Linked DNA regions of Homo sapiens: all the other regions are linked to region 1. Evidence: promoter capture Hi-C in 16 types of primary human blood cells and fetal thymus (Javierre and others, 2016). All regions are on one chromosome and are shown on one strand. Each heading gives the region's core, a stretch centred on a gene start or on the middle of the fragment in contact. The rest is flanking DNA. Distances are from core to core; before and after follow the strand shown.

Region 1 (2,750 bases), core at 121-2,620:
TATGATCATATGATCCCATTTTTTTGTTAAAAAAACATGAGAGAGGTTTATATGTACATAGAAAAAAGTCTGGACAATCATCCAACAAACTGTTGATGGTGTTTTCAGGAAGGAGGTGACTTTCACTTCTTACTCTGTATGTCTACATTGCTTGGATTTAACAATTTATTTTGTAACTTTAAAAAATACCAACAGGAGAATTCAGAAATTACAGGTTGGAGCCTGAAGATGTAGAATTTTGCCATATAAGGTGGGGAAGATGGCCAGGGAGCATGAAATGAACAGCATGAGCAAATAGAGAGAGGACTGACAGAACTCTGCTTTAGCTGAAAGCAGCAATGGGCAAGAACAGAAAGGCAGAGGACCTTGGCTGGTCCCTGGCTGTTGAGGGGAGAATGGCAGGTAGACAAGGGCCAGATGAAAAAAATCACCTTGAATGTCAGGATTAATACGTTTTTACTTTATACTGTTATAGCAGCAAGACGTTATTAAAGGTTTTTTGAGCAGGATCCCTTCCTTGTCCTACTTTGTAAAGATCACTTTGAGCTTTTTCCAAAGAGGCAATGGAATGAATAGAGCTAAAGGATCTAGCAAGGTGAGACGAGCACACCAGGCTCCAAACGAGGTTCTTCCAGTTACTAGCTGTGTGGCTTTGGTCAAGGCTTTAAGCTGTAAATTCCGGCGTTTCCTCCTGCTAATATTGAAAGGGAGAAAGTTAAATAATACCTTCATGATTTGAGTTGCTAAGATTAAACTAAATGAGATGACATACAGCGGGGCATGGCGCCAGCAGGTTGGTTACCACATCACTCTTTGATAGTGGGGAAAATGTGCTTCTTCCTGTATTTTACTGGAATTTGTTTCTACAACTGTATTACTTATCACGTAATGTTTACATGTCTGTCTCTTTCATTATACCGTAAGCTCCTAAAGGCAGGGCTGTCTGTGTTTTATCTACCTCTGTATCCTCAGAACTCATATTCCATATGCCTGGCTTGCGGACTCATTACACGTTTGTTGAATGAATGAATGAATGAATGAGCGGACTGGGGGAAGGAGGACAATCAGGCAGCTATTGCTGAGACCTCAGCACAAGACCCCGCGGAGCTTGGACGCGGGCGATGGCGGTCCCCTCTCAACCCTCTGGGGGCCGTCTCGGCCGCTGCTCCACGCCCCTCCACGTGGAGGCCGGCCTCCCGGAGGAACGCGCCAGGAACGCAGACCCGTGGTGAGGCCCGGGCTCCGCGTCTCCTCTGCCAGCCCCAGACGCCCGAACCCCCTCACCTGGTCTCCAAGTAAACGTTGGGTGGCTGCCAGGAATCTGGGGGAATTGCCGCCATAGCGAAGCCGGCGGCGGAATGCTTGTCTAGTAATTGCTACTTCCGGCGTCGATTAGCTGGGGACCCGTCGCTGCTGCACACTTCCGGTCCGTTCAACCCTTTCGATACCAGGATTTGGGTGGCCAAGACAAGGAAGAGGACGGTCCCTTCTTCCAATGCCGGGAAGCTGGGGTGGGAGACGAGAAGAAGCTGGGCTCAAGAACAGAGGAAAATGCAAACTTCATTCGCGGTGGTCTCCAAGTGGCGATACCGCGCCACTCTGGGCGATCTGATTGGTTCGTTTAGGCATGGAAGGCGGGAACAACCAGAAAAGCTGCGCTCTGGTTGGAGTTATGTCCTAATATTAAATTCGAAGAATTTCTTAGTCTCACAATTGGGCAGGGACGGGAAGGGGAGGCAGAGAATGAAAGAGGGTAGTTTAGAGATGCCAGTAAAGAATTTTTGTAAGGCGCTGTACGATGTACACAGTGCTTGCACTTTCTTATCTCATCTACTCCACAAAACAATTCTATAAGTAGATAGTATTATTACCATTTTTCAGATCTGAAAATAGACTCGGCAGTTAATACTTGTTTTTCCATAGTCATAAAGCAAATCTGAGCCTGCAGAATCCAAAGACGAGGAGTCTGAGGAGAAAAGAGAGGGAAGGGGCAGGAAGAAAATAGGAGATAAAGAAAGGAAGAGACAGGAGAAAACAGGACAAACGGATCAGAGCAAGAACAAGGCTTAACATTGGCTGGGATAGATGGTACCTGAAAGTTGTTAGGAGGGTTTGCGCAGGGCGCGAGGAACAGAAGCAAATTAGAGGAGCTATAATGTTTGGAGGGAGGACAAAAATGAAATAGAGTACCTAAACTTAACGCTGTAAATGCTTTGCACACCACTTAATAATGATGGTTGAATGTTTACCATGTGCCAGGCATCAAGCTAAGCATTTTATTGCGTATTTTCACGCTTAATCTTCAAAATCCCACAAGGTAGATATTACTATTCCCATTTTACTTTGAGGAAGCTGAGCCTTACAGATTAAATAACTTGCTTAAAGTACTACAGCTGGTGCACTTGTGCTCTTAACGACAGTTCAACTGTAATGTCCCTAATTGTCAACAAGGAATAAGGATGTACAAGGTTGTAAAGATAAACTAGACAGCTCCTTGAGAGAGGAGCTGGGCCTCCTTCATCTTTGTGCTCTTCTTGCACAGTACAGAGCACAGGGTGCTCAGCTTTGCTGAATGAATAATGAACGGAACACTACATTTTAAACTGATAAATGCTAAAGTATAATTTTTACACCTCCTGCAGTTTCAAGTTCATGCCCACCTTGTGGCCCTTGAGCTGGATGAAAAAGTCTTAATCCTTGGTCTGTTTAGTCTGTTGTTAAGTTGCCTTTCTCTGGACTTTATGTAGTTC
Region 2 (2,750 bases), core at 79-2,578, 390 kb after region 1:
TTTTAAAGTGTACAATTCAGTGGTATTTAGTATATTCATTTATAGTATAGATGGTTTTGTGCAACCATCACCACTAATTTCAGAACATTTTCATCATCCTGAAAAGAAACTACATACCTGTTTACAGTCACTCCCCATCCACCCCACTCCAGACCCTGGTAACTACTAACCTACTTTCTGTTTCTGTGGATTTACCACTTTTGGACATTTTATATATATGGAGTAATATGATCTGAGGCCTTTTGTGAGTGGCTTCTTTTATTAAGCACAGTGATTTCAGGCTTGTCCACGCTGTAGTATGTATCAGTACTTCATTCCATTTTATGGCTGAATAATATTCCATAGTATACATACACCACATTTTGTTCATTCATCAGTTGATGGATATTTGAATTGTTTTCACTTTTGGGCTATTGTACGTAATGCTTTTATGAACATTTATGCAGAGGTTTTTGTTTGGATATATATTTTCTATTCTTCTGCTGATAAATAGGAGTGGAATTGCTGGGTCATGTAGTAACTTGGTGGAACTAAGCATCTTTTAAGTTCTCTCAGTTATTCACATGAGCCCCATTTACTTAGCACATCAAATGGTCATTGTATTAATGCCTAGAAGATAAGAGGCAATCTCTACCATTGCAGGCTTTGGCAGGTGTGGTGGCCTGTAATCCCAGAATTTTGGAAGGCTGAGGCAGGTGGATCGCTTGAGGCCAGGAGTCCGAGACCAGCCTGGCCAACGTGGTGAAACCCCCCATCTCTACTAAAAATACAAATTAGCTGGGCTTGGTGGTGTGTGCCTGTAGTCCCAGCTACTCAGGAGGCTGATGCCCAAGAATCTCTTGAACCTGGGAGACGGAGGTTGCAGTGAACTGAGATTGCGTCACTCCACTCCAGCCTGGGCAACAGAGCAAGAGATTGTCTCCAAAAAAAAAAAAAAAAAAAAATGCAGGCTCTGAAATCTGACTGCCTAGGTTAAAATCCCAGCTCTGCTTTCTAGCTATGTGATCTTATGGGATTTAATTAACCTCTCAATGCATCAGTCTCCCCATCTCTAAAATAGGGACAGAGTATCTGCTCCATGGGGCTGTTATGAGGATTAAATGAGATAATACATAATAATTGGTTAGGAGGTACACAATAATATTAGCTATTATAAGAAGGATAGTTACGATGATAGTAGCTATCATTTTTGTTTTCTCTCCTTGCTTCAGTTTTTGAAACTGAAATTGAAAAGCTTTGATCTGGTTGGGTGTGGTGGCTCACACCTGTAATCCCAGCACTTTGGGAGGCTGAGACAGGTGGATCATTTGAGGTCAGGAGTTCGAGACCAGCCTGGCCAACATGGTGAATCTCCGTCTCTACTAAAAACACACAAAAAAATTATCTGGGCTTGGTGGCACAAACCTATGGGGGAAAAATAAAAAAGCTTTGGTCAGTGTGTGTGTGTGTGTGTGTGTGTGTGTGTGTGTGTGTGTGTGTGTGTGTGTCTAGAGCTCGGGCACAGGAGAAAAAAAAAATCACCTTTTTTTTTTTTTTTTTGAGATGGGGTCTCCCTCTGTTGCCCAGGCTGGAGTGCAGTGGCACGATCTCAGCTCACTGCAGCCTCTACCTCCCAGGATTAAACGAGTCTCCTGCCTCAGCCTCCTGAGTAGCTGGGATTACAGGCACATGCCACCATGCCCAGCTAATTTTTGTATTTTTAGTAGAGAAGGGGGTTTCGCCATGTTGGCCAGGCTGGTCTTGAACTCTTGACCTCAAGTGATCTCTTGACCTCAAGCCCACCTCAGCCTCCCAAAGTTCTGAGATTATAGGTGTGAGCCACCGTGCCCAGCCCTGGCTAATTTTTGTATTTTTTGTAGAGACAGGTCTTGCCATGTTGCCCAGGCTGGTCATGAACTCCTGGGCTCAAGCAGTCTGCCCACTTCATCCTCCAAAAGTGTTGGGATTACAGGCATGAGCCTCTGCGTCTGGCCAAAATCGAAATTACCTGAGTCTTCCAGGCCCTTCGTTGTTAGAAAGAGAGGCCAAGTTAAGAACTTGAAGCCGATCCTAAAATAATAATGAATCTGATAGGAGACTTAGTGTAAAAGTCACAGCCTGTCTGGGCAGGTACATTACAACTTGTTCTTGGCTTGGAGATGTTTTACTGGTAGAGTGAGTGACTAGAAGATACTAAATTATCATCGAAACAGCATAGATCACCTGTTCTGGAAGACTAATGTGGAGTGAGTGTGTGAACCTACATCAGTTGCCAACACGTTTGGCATTTAAATTTGATGGGTCTTTTTCCCATATTTGCACTAGCTCTTTTATCAGTGCTAAACAAACACCTGTTGATTTTTCCTACCAAGATGTTTGCACTGTTTCAACTAGGCAAAACAGCTATGTCAATACATTCTATGGTGTTGGTTTTATTAAAGAGAGTGACGGAGATTAATCAGAACTTTTGTTCCATTTTGTCTGCGTGGCAGCATATTCCATGGCATTCTTTTCTCTGCATATGTGGTGTGATTTCTTCGAGATGCAGTGTGTTAACTAACCTCTGGTTTTTAGGTCTAGCTTAAGTGGAGGCCTAGGTTTTGTAGAGATCTAATCTTCACTTACTAAATATTGTTAAGTGCCTGCTGGTATGTGTCATGCTCTGCCAGGTGGCAAGGGGGCTACAGAAAAAGATATGGCACCACTATGGCTTTCTAGGAGCTAAAAAATCTGCTTGGCATCATGGCTTCCCCTGGAGAAGATGCTGTGTA
Region 3 (2,750 bases), core at 65-2,564, 360 kb after region 1:
TGAAGGGCTCTCTGTGTGCACCAAGACCCCATCAAGTCAAAATCTTTATTGGTCAGCCTCTCTCTGGTAGCCCACTGTAAATATCTGACAACACACAACACAAGGCAAGTCGTTTGCAAGAAATTATTGCAAGTCTTGCAGAAGATTCAGGACTTCATGCAGACATTAAAAAGGATATTGGAAAACTGCTAGAATCATATGCAAAGCTTGAATGTAACAGAATTAGACCAGTTAATAACCAGAAAAGAGAAAATCAATAAGAATGTTATAGGCACTTCAGTAAAGAATGGTTTCAGGATGAATAAACTGCTACATATTTGCACAATGGGAGTGTTAAACAGGAGTCAAAAGGAACAACTGTAGCAACATACAACAATATGGTAGAATCTTAACAATGTAATATCAAGTGAAAAAAGTACTAAAGACATACAGTTAAAAACAACCATCTTTCTCTATATATATACACACACACTACACACACATATTTTTAGGACTTTATATAGATGCAAGAAAACTCTAAAACTGTATGAAAAGCAAAGTGAAGGATAATGAGCTCAGAATTCTGGATGATGATCACCTTGGCCAGGGGAGGAAGTAAAATGTGTTGGGGGTACCATACAGCCAGATGCAAATTGCTGACCAGACACTAATTTTATTTTGGACAGGGGATTTGAAGGTGTCTATATATTATTTACAATAACTAATATTTAAAAAGTAAACAAAAGAGAGCCATGCATGGACCAATGAGGGTATGTCATGAACCAGGGATTATGATCAATCTAATTGTATGTATATAAAGTAGAATTAAAAACACTGAAAAAAAAAAACCAAGGATAGTAACATTTACCTCACAAAATTGCTGTGAAGATTAAATGAGTTAACATATTTAAAACATTCAGAACAGTTCCTGGCACATAGTAAGCACTTACACAATATAATTATGTAAGTATTTTTGTTATCATTATTTTTACTTTATGCCAAGGAGTAGCTACTATTTATTATGCATATAAAACTACTATTTATTAAGCTGTGTTGTAGCAGACACCGTTAGCTTCCTTCCCAATACCTATTTCCACCTTCTTTGCTACCAGAAGTCTGCTTTCTCTCAGGATGGCAATGAGCCCAGACCCAGGCAAAATATGTGCTTTTCCAGGTTTTTGCTTGTATCCAGGGTGTTCATGGCACACAGTTCTAGCAAATGACATATAAGCAGAAACCTGCTGGAAGATCTAGGAAGACTTTTGCCTTTCCTGGTAAGAGAAGATGATGTGGCTGGCACCATTCTCACTTCTTCCTTTTTCTTGCCTTGAATGTGGTGTGATGCCTGCAGCCTCAGCAGCTATTTTGTTACTGAAGCAACAAGCATGAAGACAAAAACAAGTAGGCTAAGGATGCCAACATGAAAGGGAGAGACTTACTTTTTACATTTTATTGGTTACTCTTGAGGTTGAGTATTCTTCTAAGTATTGATATATGATTTTAAAAAATCTATGTCTAGGCTGGGCATGGTGGCTCACGCCTGTAATCCCAGCAGTTTAGGAGGCCAAGGCAGGCAGATCACCTGAAGTCAGGAGTTCAAGACCAGCCAGCCAACAGGGTGAAACCCTGTCTCTACTAAAAATACAAAAATTAGCCAGGCATGTTGGCACATGCCTGTAATCCCAGCTACTAGGGAGGCTGAGGCATGAGAATCACTTGAACCTAAGAGGTGGAGAGGTTGCAGTGAGCCGAGATCATGCCACTGCACTCCAGCCTGGGTGACACAGACTCTGTCTCCAAAACAAAAACAAAAGCCGTATGTCTAAATAAGTATTAAAAATTATTTTGATAAGCATACAATAAAAATTCAGTCATGGGCTGGGCACAGTGGCTCATGCCTATAATTCCAGCAGTTTGGGAGGCCAAGGTGGGCATATCACTTGAGCCCAGGAGTTTGAGACTAGCCTGGGCAAGATGGCAAAAACCCATCTCTACAAAACATACAAAAATTAGCTGGGCTTGGTGGCCACGCCTGTAGTCCCAGCTACTTGGGAGGACTGCTTGAGCCCAGGAGGCCGAGGCTGCAGTGAACCATGATCGTGCCACTGAACTCCAGTCTGGGTGACAGAGCAAGACTCTGTCTTAAAAAATAAATAAATAAATAAATAAATAAATAAGTAAATAAAATTCTAAGATATGAGAAAGCATTGAAGCATAGTGTAATTAATGATATTTGTATTTCAGTGGTACCTAAGATAATGATGCATTTTGCAGTTGACGGCACCTTAGATTTACTCAATCATGGTAAGAACTTTTTATTTTCAATTGCTCTCATCAAGTTGACTTGTGATCTCAGTAGAATATGTTGCTGCCAACTCATTTCAGATGGATCTCTTGCAACACTGGGTTAGGGAGGAAAATAACAATGACAACGAACACATTATAAAGCTTTAGAGCCTAATTCATCTATATCGGTTAAGATCCTCCCCTTAAATAGGAGGATCACTTAAGCCCAGGGGTTTCAGACCAGCCTGGGCAACATGGTGAGACCCCAGCTCATTAAAAAAAAAAAAAAAGAAGAATGCATTTGGCTGCAAGGAACAGAGACTCAAACAATAGTAGTTTAAACAACTAGAAATTTATTTTCTTCTTCTAACAGGAAATCTGGCAGTGGCAGCCTAGCACTTGGTCAGTAGCCTCTGGGTAATGTGTCTGGGTGGCTAAGAAGAGGCGAGACAGAAAACTGCTGGGACTTTTTAAAGCCTTTAAGT

The links. The method cuts DNA at HindIII sites, captures the fragments that hold promoters and counts their contacts. A CHiCAGO score of 5 or more calls a contact.
Region 2: a contact is called between a fragment that was not itself captured here and the fragment with the promoter of PPIL1 in region 1, in 1 of 17 cell types (total CD8 T cells). The highest score is 5.3, in total CD8 T cells.
Region 3: a contact is called between a fragment that was not itself captured here and the fragment with the promoter of PPIL1 in region 1, in 5 of 17 cell types (erythroblasts, activated CD4 T cells, naive CD4 T cells and 2 more). The highest score is 7.0, in erythroblasts.

Annotation. Positions count from the first base shown.
Region 1 is chr6:36,873,433-36,876,182 of GRCh38, forward strand. It overlaps PPIL1 (peptidylprolyl isomerase like 1), which reads right to left and starts at 1,371. Exons shown (of 4, transcript NM_016059.5): 1 at 1,285-1,371. The coding sequence starts at 1,340. It also overlaps a transcript of C6orf89 not described here. RefSeq lists an enhancer at 1,362-1,591. The HindIII fragment of the contact is 9,401 bases long and covers 1-2,750 here.
Region 2 is chr6:37,260,510-37,263,259 of GRCh38, forward strand. All of the region lies in intron 1 of TBC1D22B (TBC1 domain family member 22B), which reads left to right. Among named protein-coding and RNA genes, the nearest start is that of TMEM217B, 3.7 kb to the left of the region's middle. The HindIII fragment of the contact is 192 bases long and covers 1,233-1,424 here.
Region 3 is chr6:37,237,352-37,240,101 of GRCh38, forward strand. All of the region lies in intron 1 of TMEM217B (transmembrane protein 217B), which reads right to left. All of the region lies in intron 1 of TMEM217 (transmembrane protein 217), which reads right to left. Among named protein-coding and RNA genes, the nearest start is that of TBC1D22B, 19 kb to the right of the region's middle. The HindIII fragment of the contact is 2,221 bases long and covers 205-2,425 here.